Linked DNA regions of Homo sapiens: region 1 is linked to region 2. The links are contacts of gene promoters, found by promoter capture Hi-C in blood cells and fetal thymus (Javierre and others, 2016). All regions are on one chromosome and are shown on one strand. The core of a region is centred on a gene start or on the middle of the fragment in contact, and the rest is flanking DNA. Distances in the headings are between cores, read along the strand shown.

Region 1 (6,731 bases), core at 2,319-4,818, 720 kb after region 2:
ATCTCTTCTAAAAATACAAAAAATTAGCTGAGCGTAGTGGCACACACATGTATTCCCAGCTACTTGAGAGGCTGAGGTGGGAGAATCGCCTGAGCCTGGGAAGTCGAGGTTACAGTGAATCGTGATTGCACCACTGCACTCCAGCCTGGGCAACAGAGTGAGACCCTGTCTCAAAAAACAAAACAAAACAAAAAAAGAAAGGAAGAGAAAGGAAAATGAAATATGGAGGGAAACAGAAGAAACTGCTTAAGAAATGGAAATTTGTTTCCTATAGAGAGCAGGACCCATGGATCAAAAGGCAGGAGAGTGCTGTTTTTCATTATTACTGTAGTTTTTAAAGTATCATTTGACTAATTATATGCATGCATTGTTTTATTAAAAACGAGGTTAAAATTTCAAATGAATGGGATACTAAAAGCTTATACCCTATTTGACCATGTTTCTGATAACCGCAGGTAACAAAAGGACAACTGTGACCAAGGAAAAGGCTGGGGGGTGGCGGGCAGACAGAGGAAGGTGGGGGCAGCAGCAAGGGCTAGCAGAGGGACACTGCCAGGAAGTGAGAACTTGGGGCAACAGGTGGCCCTGAGTATGGGTAGAAATATCTGACCCCACCCAGGGCTGTGACCGAGGTCGGACGGAAGTGCAGGGAAAGACCAGCAGACCGCGGGAACTCGCTCGTAAAGCACTTTGTTTACTTCCTGCTGTCTGGAATTTCAGAGTGAAGTCCAGTGGGACCTCTGGCCTGGCCACCTGTCCGCACAACACACGGGGCCCAGGAGGCTTTCCCTGGCATCATTTGCAAGGAGGCATCATTTGCATTCACCTTCCATTTGTCTGACCTCAGAGGTGGGACCCTCTGCTTCCTTCACATACTTGATAGTGGATGGCCAGGGGCAACTTCCAAAATTCCTGGCCTCCCTGGCTCTTTCAACAGGCAACTGAAGCTCAAATTCAGTTCTTCTCAGGGCTGCAGGGCGAACACTCTGGACACCACAGCCAGAGCTGCACTAAGCGGCTGCACTCACTGAGCCGGCCCTCCGAAGGGTGCTACAATATGGATCTGATCACAGCTCAAATTCCACCAGGTAGTGACCTTGGACAAGTAACCTGACCCCCTCCCAGTCTCTGTGTCATCATCTGAAAGGAAGAGAGAATATCCCACATTTGCAGATCTTTGGTGAGAAACAAATTACGGATCTAAATGCTCAATAATTGTTTGACCCTTCCCCCTGTCTGCTTATACCAAGTAAGCATCCACCATAAAATCCAGGCAGCCAGGTGTATTAGTCTCCTTTTGCCGCTGTAACAAATGACAAGCTTAGTGGCTTAACACCAATTTTTAATCTTACAGGGCAGGAGGTCAGAAGTCTAAAATGACTTTCACTGGGCTAAAATCATGGCCTGTGTTCTTTCTGGAGACTCCAGGGGAGAATCCGTTTCCTTGGCTTTTCCAGCTCTAGAGACTGCCTGCGATCTTTGGCCTGTGGCCCCTTCCGCCCTCTTCAGAGTACATCACTCCAACCTCTGCTTCCCTCCTGCCCAGGACACCTGTGATTACATTAAGCCCACCCAGGTGATCCAAGACAATCTCTCTATCTCAAGATCCTGAACTTAAACACAGCTTAAACTTACCCCAGGTAACACAGTCACACATTCCAGGGATTAGGACATGGACATCCCACCACACTTTGTACGAAGTGCACCTGAACTGAAGTAACTTAGTCAGGTGTAACTGACACTGCCCCTTGCCCTCTGCTCTCCCAAGAATCATTTTAAGGAGACTTTACTAAGGAATCATGGAAAAAAGTTAAAAAACAACTTAAAGGCCAGGCGCGGTGGCTCATGCCTGTAATCCCAGGGCTTTGGGAGGCCCAGGCGGGTGGATCACGAGGTCAGGAGTTTGAGACCAGCCTAGCCAACATGGTGAAACCCCGTCTCTACTAAAAATACAAAAAATTAGCTGGGCATGGTGGCAGGTGCCTGTAATCCCAGCTACTCAGGAGGCTGAGGCAGGAGAATAGCTTGAACTCAGGAGGCAGAGGCTGCAGTGAGCCGAGACCGCGCCATTGCACTCCAGCCTGGGTAACAGAGAGAGACTCCATCTCAAAAACAAACAAAAAACAAAAGAATTTAAGAAGCCAGAATAACAGGAAGTGTGCTGCTAGTTTCCCAGGATTACAATTTACTTGTAAATGTACTGAAGAACTCTGAAGTTCTCCTTGAGATTTGAAATATTTTAATACCTATGTCAGACTCTGACAGCACCCTAACGCCCCCAAGATCAGGGCAAGGGGTGAGGGGTATCTGACACCCAGCTGAAGTCTCAGCCTCTGCCCAGCCTGGGTCTGGAGCCAGAAGAGGTCCCCATAGACTCGGGCTCAGCATGGCCTCCCCAGGAAGGTTGCTTCATCGGTGGTGGTGATGATCAAAGCTGATAGCTTGCTCAGGACTAGTGAAGACACATCAATAATCTGGAAATACTTTCCATATTTGCTCACCAAATTTCCTAGGAACCGGCGAACATTTCTACCTCCTTTTTCTGGCAAAACGAATCCCTGTGAAAATGGCTAATGAGGTACAGTAGAACCCAGTGTCACAATCCTTGCTACTGCTAAATTAGAATTAGCTCAAGGTTAAACTGCATTCTTTGAAGCATAACTCAACACAATAACTGTCTAACATATCGGTTCAGAAAAGACTCTCCACTTTGGTATGAAATAGAAGCAGTATTTTTAAAAATAAAACTCGGTGGCAGTAAGTCAAACTATAATCGTAGGAAAGATACTTTACAGGGAATTCTTTCTGGCTGAAGGCCCTGCCGTCCCCTAGGGCTGCTGGGCAGTCCACTGATAGATCATCACAAGGATTAGATCTGTCCTTTGCCTTCAACAATGAGTCTCTATGTTCCAGGGGCAACCAAACATGAACGATGTTGTGTTCATCAGCCTGTCCTTCTCTGCTCCCTTAAACCCTCCGAACGGTGGTGGATACCACAGCGCGGTACCAAGTCCAGGTGTAATCCAACATTAACTGTCAAGGTCAACTTACAGTGAGAGCTCATTATGAGCCATGGTCTCGACAGGGTGCTGTCATCTAAGCTTGTAACACGCCTGAGGTCGGTGGCATCTGCTATTTGCCCACTTAAGCAGGAAGGGAGGTTACTAAGTCGTCTGAGGTCAGTAGCACACCCAGCAAGTGCTGGGATGCAAACCCAGGGAGGGTGACTTGAGTCCCGGCTCTTAGCTACTGCGGTGTTGCGAGGCTGTAACCTGTAATAGCCTAACATTTCTTGTGACTAATCCAAAAGGAATGAAGAAAGGAAATTCTTCACTCTTTTCTAAATGTATTTTTTGGGGCACTCTGTATGCTGGCCAGAGGGGATCTGAATAAAGCCAAGTAACAGGCAGTTAGGTCCTGGAGTGATGAACAAAGAACAGGGCTGTAGAGTGGATTAAAGGGTCTGTTCCGTCTGGGGTCAGGGAAGGCTTTCTGGGATAGGAGAGACTTCACTGTGACACAACCGGGTGCCCCGGGAGGTTCACAAGGAGGAGAATAACATGGCTATTCTGACTGAATCCAGGATAGGGATCTTTGAGGTGAGGTGCACCTTCAGTGGCATCTCTGCCCTAAGGGAGACTCTGCCCTCAGCTCACCTGCACTGGGCTCCCAGGGCAACCGCCAAGAAAACAATGCTCCCCTCACGCAAAATGCCCACATAGCTTTCAGACCTAAAGTGATGCTACTCTCAGGAAATAAGACAGGAATGTGGCTTTACAAGAGTCCACCTGGTCACCCCATGCGTCTCTGTAAGCCCCTGGACCTTAAAATGGCTTTTCTCTTCACCATTCCTCTGCTCTGCTTCATAGTAGCTATTATATGGTTCTTAGGCACAATTTAAAGCTGCTTTTTAGATTTACTAAACAATTCTTAAGTGGAATGTTAAATTTTTAAAACAATCAGTGTTTTGTGTGGCCATCCCCTAATATATATCTTTTCCTGTCGGTGGCTCTCAGGAACCCACATGAAAGCTTTCTCACCTCACATTTAAATTTGTTTCTGCTGGGCGCAGTGGCTCATGCCTGTAATCTTAACACTTTGGGAGGCCAGAGTGGGAGGATCGCTTGAGCCAGGAGTTCAAGACCAGCTTGGGCAACACAGAGACCCTGTCTCTAAAAAATAAAAAAATTAGCCAGGTGTTGTGGTGCACATCTGAAGTCTCAGCTATTCAGGAGGCTGAGTGGGAAGGATTGCTTAAGCCCAGGAGGTCAAGGCTGCAGTGAGCCATAATCAGGCCACTGCACGCCAGCATGGGCAACAGAGCAAGACCCTTTTTCAATCAATCAATCAATCAATCAATCAATCAATCTGCACCAATGAAACCTTGCCGACACAAGTCATTCCTCTACCCTTAGCACAGTCCCTCCTGTCACAAACAAGGGACCTGATTTCTCAAAATATAATTTATGTCAAAATATCTAAGTAAACCTAACAAATGTAACAAGAATTCTCTCTTAAGCTGGCTGCTATGGCTTGAAAAGTTAAAGGAAAGCTTCGGTTCCCAGATTCTACACAAGTGAATTAAACACTGCCAACAAAACGAAACCCAACTTAAAAGTTATCTTCTGTCCTAAGATATCTCTAAAACTCATAGCTTAATGAAGCAGAATGCCATTTATGTAACTACCAATCCATGAAAAAAATAAAAACTACCTGAAATCATAAAATGTTTAATCTTCTAAAATAACTTGATTTCTAAGGGTCTAATCACACAGACCCTGAAGCTATGACAAATATCCAATATAATCACACTAATACAGGCCTAATGTATTTTAAATAGGTGCATTTAAACCCGAGAAGCAGTCCTTGCATTTTAAATAGGTGCGTGATACTGCTGTTTGCACAAGGAACCTCTGTGTCTCTGCTCTAATTCTCACAGTGAATTCTAATTATGCAGACCATCAAAATTATTCAGACTTACACTAGATAGCATCTTCAATTTTCTACTTGGTAGAGATTTGTTAGGCATATAGAAAAAAATTATTAATTAACTCTGAGAAAGAAGACTTACATTCCTCGTAGAGCCCAGTGATTCCTTCAACTTATAAGTTCCCTAGTGACTTTGATATGATCTCACTATGACTCATAAGCATGAGTCAAATTATTCACTTGGCAGCCTTTTCCTAGCTCCAATCATATTCTAGAGAGGTTTCTTACATTGATGCTTCCCATCAATAAGTTTCTCATCATTTCGCTTTTCAGATGAAACCTAAGGGCACACAGGCAGATTCAAGGAAAAGCCAAAAGAAGCAAAATTGTGAAAACGTATCACACTCCTCACTAGATGTGATGGCAAGGGACAATTTTGCAGACCCGGCCTCTGGTCCACGGCCTGTATCCATCCAGAGGCAGTATGAAGTGACTTATTCATGGTGACTCTGTCTACAGGGCAAGGTAGATCCTTCTAGTGCTCCTGCTTCCCTCATTTCTAAACCAAATGGCTCAAATGGATGTGTTTTAACCTCCTCTTAGATCCTAAGGTCCCTTAGCTTACAGAAGACATAAAGGTATCATGGGATGTAGCAGACAATTAATGTAATAACCTTTTTCTGAGAATAATCTATTTTTCTTTTCTCTAACACGGTGAGGTGGGTGACTGCTGAGGAGCAGTGCTCTAATCTGATGGGGCAGTCCCCAGGGTGGGGGCGTGGGGCTACAGCTTTCCTTCCCCTTCCAAAACCTCTGGGGAAGGGGAGCAGGGGCAACTCCATCAGTTCTAGCCTGACCTCATGGAGGAAGTCTGTTTTTAGAGTATTCTCGAGAGGAACTCAAGGAGATTAAATAAGCAACGAAGAACAAGCCTCTAGAATAGCTCTGGGGAAAAGAGCCGTTCTGTCCTTTTTGCCCTTATTATGAGAAAATGCATCCTTCTTCCCACCTCTGCCACCGTAAAGATATGTTTCTAGACAAGCGCTCTCTTTAAGTCCCTGGAGATGAACAAAGCCTCCATGCCACACCAGGCGGGCTTCCTTCCCATGGGCCTCTGCACAGCCCCAGGCTCTACCAGGCCCCAGTCTCGGGATGCAGAACTCATGGAAAGGTCTTATAAAGACACCAGACACTGGGAGAATCTCTGCCACAATTCCAAATTATGTCCTCTTTTAGAAAGTCCCCACTTTTTAAGAAGTAAAATACTCATTAAATCCCCTAGCTCGGTGGACTGTTGACGATGTCTCCCTATCTAACTGTAGCAGTGTGCCAAGCACAGGGCTCCAGAGATAGGCAGGTGGGGCCGCCTCCTCCGGCCTCACCCACCTCTGCTCCCTCCAGCCCACCCACGCCTCCAGCTGCACAGTTGACTCACCATCCAAACAGCTGCTTCCCCCAGAAAGTAGACCAGGGCTCGACGGCAATTCTTGTGGCAAATTTAATAGAAGAATATGAGACTCACCCTTACTTCCCACACATAAAACACTGCAGGCACTCCAAATCCTTACAGACATATGCACTTCGGAATCAACTCAGGCATGCACAGCATCCCTGTGCTGGAGTTTATTTTAAAAAACAACGCCCCAGTTATCACAGTTTCTTTTTTTGTTCACCATTTTCCATAACAAAAGAAGCTACACAAAATTTGGGGGGAGATACTCTCTTTGGAGACTGACACATTTGCAGAGGGGTCATGAATAATGATTCCAAAGCTCCTATTTAACTTCTGAATCAGGCAAAGA
Region 2 (6,994 bases), core at 2,407-4,906:
GTGTTGGACACACAAAGCCATGAATGAAGAAGCTGCTCTGATTCTGTCTTAGATTGTGGAGGTCAGGACTGGAGTACTCCCTAGTCTGCCATAATTTCACCTAACCCATCAGTGGGGTTTTTTTTTTGGTTTTTTTTTTTAAGATGGAGTCTCATTCTGTCACCCAGGCTGGAGGGCAGTGGTGCAATCTCGGCTCACTGCAACCTCCATCTCCCAGGTTCAAGCCATTCTCCTGCCTCAGCCTCCCGAGTAGCTGGGACTACAGGCATGCACCACCATGACCAGCTAATTTTTGTATTTTTAGTAGAGATGGGGTTTTACCATGTTGACCAGGCTGGTTTTGAACTCCTGACGTCCTTGGCCTCCCAAAGTGCTGGGATTACAGGTGTGAGCCACCACTCTCGGCCCCATCAGTGGGTTTTAATTCCATCTGATGTTGGCCTTGTGCTTGCTGCAGCCTCCTGCCCATTCTCCAGAAGCAGAGTGATAGCTGCCTGGCTGTTGATCACAGATTCATGAGTAAGCCCAGCCAAGACCAGTAGAAGAACCACCCGGCTAAACCCAGCCCAAATGGCCAATTACAGAATTATGAGTTGAGGTGGTTGTTTTAAACCACTAAGTGTGGGAGTGGTTTTTTATGCAACATAGATAACTGATACACTGTGCAAGCCATCATCCATATTCTAGTGAAAGTGATCTCTCTGAAATGCAGTTCCAAACATGCCACTTCCTTGTTCAGTCTTCACTGACTCACATGGCCCAGAGGACAACAGTCACTCCTTGGGATTGGCATACATCTTCCAGCCCTTGATTTTGTTGGCTGAGAACTCGCGTGAGGGAAAAGTTGCAGGTGGCCAACACTCTCATTGTCCTACTTAACTTTAAGATCCAGCTCAAGGAACCCCCTTTCCTTCTGGAACTCCTTGCAGCAGACTTCGTCACCCCATGACGAGACATCTCACACTGAGGAATGATCTCTTTTCTTTTCTGCCTCCCTTACATGCAGTGAGCTCCTCAAGGGTGAGTGTGCAGTAGATGCTTCCTGGATTCTTGTTGCAGCCTCCTGCCAAGAGATCCTGCAGCTTCGCTGGGCTCCTCCAGAGACCAGGAACCCACGTCATTGAGGGCCATCAGTTCTATCATGGGACAGCTCTGCCTGTCAAAGAGCCCATCCTTAAATTAAGACAGAAAGTGTTTCTCAGGATTTTTTTCTCTTTGGTCCCTTTGGGGTAACACTAAGTGCATTTGTTCCTCTCTCCACATAAGTCTTATCTTCTGTGGTAAGCCCTCTGCCGCCATGTGTCTGGAGGGTGTGCTGTTGCATCCTCTCACCAGTCTGATCCCTGTCTTTGGAATCAGCCAAGAGCTGGACACAATACTCCTAATGGACCCTGTCCAGTGCTAAATTAAGGGAATATGACCTTCCTCATTTTAGAGGCTATACTCCTTTGAATGCAGCTGAGAGCTGGCAGCTATTTTGGCAGCTACAGTACACTGAGCCCCTTGTTGACTGAAGCCCTGAAATGTCTTCCTCTCGTACTTGCTGGGTCCCAACCAATCCTTCCTGATAGTTTTCTGTCCCCTGAAGCTCCTGAAAAGTAGGCTTGGCTTCCTGTTTACTGCCTTAAACACAATCCTGGCCATAGGGAGTCTCTGCAATCATCATGGCCACTCAAATGAGAACCCTGGCACTCAGGCCTCTTCTCTGACCTCAGCCTGAGACTGAGACCTGTCACCAGGGCCCAGCGGGCATCTTGGGTCTGAACAGAGCCCTTCAGCAGGAGCCCTGCTTACTCGGTGACCTTGGACAAGTCTGCTTGTCTCTGGACCTTGGTTTCTTCATCTGTAAGGCAGAGTGGTTGAACTTAATGATGCATTCTTTTTAAGGTTTTTAGTAGATTTGCATACAGTGATAAGAAAGATGCCTTGTACTCATTCTTTTTTTTTTTTTTTTTCTGAGACAGGGTCTCACTTTATTGCCCAGGCTGGAGTGCAATGGCACAATCATGGCTCACTGCAGCCTTGAACCCTGGGCTCTACTGATTTTCCCACCACATTCTCCCAAGTACCTGATACTACAGGTGTGCACCCCCATGCCTGGCTAATTTTTGTATTTTTACTAGAGACAGGGTTTCACCATGTTGCCTGGGCTGGTCTTTGAACTCCTGGGCTCATGTGATCTGCCTGTCTCGGCCTCCCAAAGTGCTGGGATTATAGGCATGAGCACTGTGCCCGGCCCCATTATTCTTTACTCAGTTTCCCCCAATAGTAACATCTTACACAAGGATCGTGCCATATCACAACCAGGAGAGTGACACGGACACCATTTTTGGGATTTTATTCAGACTGTGCTTTGACATGCATTCATTTCAGTCATAGTTAAAGCCTCTTCTGCTCATAGGAGAAAATGGTTGTTGGTGCTTGCTGGGGTGGCGCTGTCCTGGTGTCTCACATACATCTCTGACCTTCCTCTTGTCCTTTCTCGCCTTTCCTTCCCTTTCTTTGCCCATTACCTCTTTCCAAAAAGGGAATAAGGCCGTCCTTTTGGGTCACTTAATTTTCACAACGACACAGTGAGGCACTGCTCTCCTCATTCCCATTTTACAGATGGGATGCCGAGTTTCGGTGGTCGGCCAGGCCCATGCGGTGGTGGAGTGAGGACTGGAACAGTGGCATGTGTGACTCAGAGACCTGGACCTCTGACCGGCTGCACTGTGCACTCTGCAGCCCCGCGGTGAGGCCCTTCTTGGGCAGGGGCCTGAGCTGGGGGTGGTCCGGGGAGGCAAGAGGATGCTGAGAAGGAATCAAGGGGGTCTGGAGAAAGGGGCTGGGCACAGGGAAAGAGAAGGGCAGGAAGGAGCTGAAGGTGCACAGAGGCCAGAGCGGAGCTCAGCCGGAGCCAAGGCTTGGATCAGCCCTGGTTGGATGCCCAGGCTCCTCGGAGCTGTGGTGGGAGCAGGGGTGGGGAGGAACACTTTCCAGGGCTGCTTCCGACCTGCTCCTCATCAAATTTGTGACTCATCTCCGGAGAGCAAGAGCCTGCCTGTGGCCATTGCAACATCAGGGAGTTTCCCCGAGGCTGGGATTTGGAGGGCCTTAGTGCCACCCACTCCCCATGATGGATTGGGGTGATGATGGGGCAGGGTGGGGGCAGTTTTCTTACCTTCCCACTGCAGAGAGCAGTGAAGGCCACATATGGCCCCTGATCACGCGGTTCTGGAGCCCAGGACAGACCCAGAGCTGGGAACGGATTGGAGTGAAACCTTGTTCTCTCTTTCTACTTGGCCCTTCTCAGGGAGAGAGTGGAAGCCCACATGGGTGCTGGAGCTGGGGATGCTGGAAGACTATTTGCTAATTCCTCCCTCCACCCCAGGTGTTAGCACCACAGGTGTGGCCTGGGCCTGGCCCCATATGGAACACGCCAGGTGAACCTATCAACCAGATCCATGGGAACTCAGATATATTACCTTTTCCCACAGCATCGATCCTTTTAGTCAAGGCAGAAATTTCTCCCTCTGTAAATGAATAACTGGCCTTCCCCACAGAAGGGCAACAGAATTCTACTGTACGGGTTTGCCAGTTTCTCTCCCACTGTGGGGCCATTTGCTGGGCTTCGGTAAACGTTACTTATGTGCGTCTCATAAATCAGGTGTCTGAGTTCTCAGGCTGTGGCTGCAGTCTACCATTGAATTACATCCCGTGAGCAATGTTGTCCGATTTCACCGGCCAGCACGTTCTTCTCGAGTGTGGGATTGGTTTTTGCAAGACCTCGAAAGGATTTTGATAAGCCACCTGCTTAAGGCCGGCTGAAAAAGAAGAAAGGAGGGCATATGTGGGTCAGCTCACTCGGAATAGAAGAGGAATCAGGTATTATTTTCCCTTTCCCACTCTCTATTCCTGCCTGTTCCTGCCTACTTTTGCCACTTTGCCACAGAGCCTTTGCCCAATGAATTCCTGCCTGGGGGCTTGGAAATCACATTGGTGTTGGAGTCAGATGAGTTGGGTGAATCCAGCCTCTGCAGTCTGAGCAGGCACTGCCTTCCTTAGCCTCCTCTTCCTCACCTAGAAAGTGGACATCCTGAAACAGACCTCACAAGGGAGTCAGGCGATTAAATGAGATGACTGAGCCTACTCCTGTGTGTGGCTGCTGAGTCGCACTGGGTGTGCTTGGGCAGGTCTTACTGCTCTCTGTTTCCTAGACTGTATGTGAAGGGATGGTCTGGATGAGGGGTTGCAAACTTAACCTCCCATAGCTTCCATGCGTGTGAACCTGATGGGAGGGCGCCCTGTTCACGGGGCCTCTGCTACACAGCACCAAAGAATTGGAGCCCCGGGGGGACCCTGGAAGGTCAACTCCAAGGGCCCAGGGATGTTCCTCTCTTTTGTTCACTGCCATATTTTCAGTGCCCAAAACAGTGTCTGACAAAGTAGATGCTTAATAAATATCTGCTGAATGAATGAAATTGAATCAGTGTTGCTGGATGTTCCAAACTTTCAAAAGAAACTGGAAAGCTGGCTCCCAATGGGGAGTTTCAGTACTGGTAACCAACTCAAGAGCCTGGGGGCTTGGAGTTTTAAAAAATACCATGTGGTTCAAATTAAACACATGTGCAGGCTGGATCTTGCCTGTTGGCTCAGCTCCAGGCCTTCTGACGACACTCTGCTCTCCAGGAAACCTGCAGGGGCTGGAACACTGATCACAGGGTTATCACTGATGAGGTCCTGGTGGCCCAGCCGCTGCCAGCCTCTCAAACCCTGTCTCCAGGCTCCAAGAACATGGCATTCTTTCCATTCCTGGAATGAATGAGTCTTTGCTGCTATTCTGTGAGGACCAGCCCTTCCCGTGCAGCTGTGGGGACTGCCATTCTCCCCATTCCCCCAAGTGTCTTGGAGTCCAGTCACTACACCCTCTCCCCCACTCCATGGAAACTGACCTTGGAATGGCCTCCTGGCCCACGGACTCTCTCCTCCCCAGGGCCTGACAATGTCCCGCCTGCCTGTGAGGGCCCAGGTAGGGCCCACCCACCACCTGACCTCTCCATTCTCTATGTTGTCTCCAACCTCCTTCTTCTTCCCTCTACTTCAGCCACCTGGTGCCAGGGATACACTTGGTCCTTGTCATCTCCTGAGATGGCTCTGCCTCTGGAATGTTCTACTCAAACATTCCTGCTCTGTGGCTATGCCTTCCTCTCTCTCTTTTAATGAGACAGGGTCTCACTCTGTCAGCCAGGCTGGAATGCAGTGGCACAATCTTGGCTCACTGCTTGTAGCCCTGACCTCCTGGGCTCAGATGATCCTCTTGCCTCAGCCTCCCAAGTAGCTGGGACTACAGGTGCGCACTACCACGCCTGGATAATTTTTGTATTTTTTGTAGAGACGGGGTCTTGCTATGTTGCCCAGGCTGGTCTCAAACTCCCGGGCTCAAGCCATCCACCTGTCTCAGCCTCCCAAAGTGCTGGGATTACAGATTGCACCCTTTGTGGAAACCAGGCTCACGGCTGATTCCCTTCACAGTGTACAGAAGATCACGCCTGGCTCTTCTTCTGTTTCTTGCTGTCACCCAGGTTCTCTCACTATATCCATCCTTTAACACACTGATCTCACTTCACTTCCTTCTCTCCCTGTGCTCGTTTCTTCCCTCTCCATCATTCCCCCGAGTCTGACCAGGATCCCCAACTCCCATGACGTATGGCCGTCTATCTGGCTAAACCCTACTCCAGAGCAATCCTTTCCTGGGTCTGTCGAGCATTATCAGAGTAAATTCACACAACACAGCCACGCTTTCCAGCTTCAATGGGGCCCTCAAAGCTGCCTGGAGCCCACCATCCTTCCTGGGTGAACTGTCTTTGCCAGCTGACCATGGTGGACCCAGCCTGTCCATTCTCCTCCAGCCCCAATTCTCTCCATGACCCGCCTCCTCCTCTGCCATCCTTCAACCTCTCCCTCCTAACCTGTAACCCCACCTGCCTCTGGGCCTACTTTGTTCCTTCTGTCTGGAACACTCCTTTCCCCCATTTTGCTTGGCCAGCTTCTCATTTTTTGGGATTCAGTTTATGTGTCTCTTCCTCCAGGAACCCCTCTCTAACCATCCCTCCCAGCCACCCAGACTGGAGCCCTGCTCTGGTTCTCACGGCACCCCTCACCCTGATGGTGGCGGGCATCCTGCTCTATGACAATCCCTTAATTATTGTCCTGGTTGCTGTGAGCCCCTGGAGGGTAGAGACACCGTTAGGCTCACCGTTGGGTCTCTCATAGCAAGACCCGCACCAATGCATTACACGTTCAATAAGAGCATGCACAAGCATTCTTTTGTGAGCAGCTCACCCTTTCCCGCCTCTGCCAGCCCTTCCTCCCTGTCTCCACGTATCCAGATTGCACCCTTTGTGGAAACCAGGCTCACGGCTGACTCCCTTCACAGCGTCTTCTCTGCTAACCTGAGAGGGAACCCATCCCCTTTCTCGCTGAAGGCGCAAGATGCTGGATCCGTGGTGTGTTCATGCAATTTCTCATTTCATTTTTTATATTATAATATTTAGATGTATGTAAGTTCCTTGAATATAGAACTTCTAGCTATACCATCCCTGTATTCCTGGCAGTTAGCCTAGAAAGCTTTGAATAGACAAATGGAAGTGTAATAAGAGAGGCCATTACCCGATACTTGTTATTTGTTTCCTGCTGCTGCTATGACAAATTACCAGAAACTCGGTGGCTTAAAATACAAATGGGGCCAGGCGCAGTGGCCACGCCTATAATCCTAGCACTATGGGAGACCAAAGTGGAGGATCACTTGAGCCCTTGAGTTTGAGACCAGCCTAGGCAATGCAGGAAGACACCATCTCTACAAAAAATAGAAAAGTTAGCCAGGCATGGTGGTGCACACCTGTAGTCTCAGCTACAGGAGGCTGAGGTGGGAGGATCCCTTGAGTCTGGGAAGTTGAGGCTGCAGTGAGCCGTGATTGTGCCAGTGCACTCCAGCCTGGGTGACAGAGCGAGA

What was found. The method cuts DNA at HindIII sites, captures the fragments that hold promoters and counts their contacts. A CHiCAGO score of 5 or more calls a contact.
Region 1: a fragment that was not itself captured here is called in contact with the fragment with the promoter of BDKRB1-AS1 in region 2 in 1 of 17 cell types (endothelial precursors); the score reaches 5.8 in endothelial precursors.

Annotation. Positions count from the first base shown.
Region 1 is chr14:95,544,397-95,551,127 of GRCh38, reverse strand. It overlaps GLRX5 (glutaredoxin 5), which reads right to left. Exons shown (of 2, transcript NM_016417.3): 2 at 6,414-6,731. Among named protein-coding and RNA genes, the nearest start is that of GLRX5, 13 kb to the right of the region's middle. RefSeq lists an enhancer at 2,470-3,345 and a cis regulatory region at 5,019-5,309. The HindIII fragment of the contact is 930 bases long and covers 3,104-4,033 here.
Region 2 is chr14:96,265,242-96,272,235 of GRCh38, reverse strand. BDKRB1-AS1 (BDKRB1 antisense RNA 1) reads left to right here and starts at 3,656. Exons shown (of 2, transcript XR_007064322.1): 1 at 3,656-3,867. RefSeq lists an enhancer at 2,382-3,581. The HindIII fragment of the contact is 7,907 bases long and covers 1-6,611 here.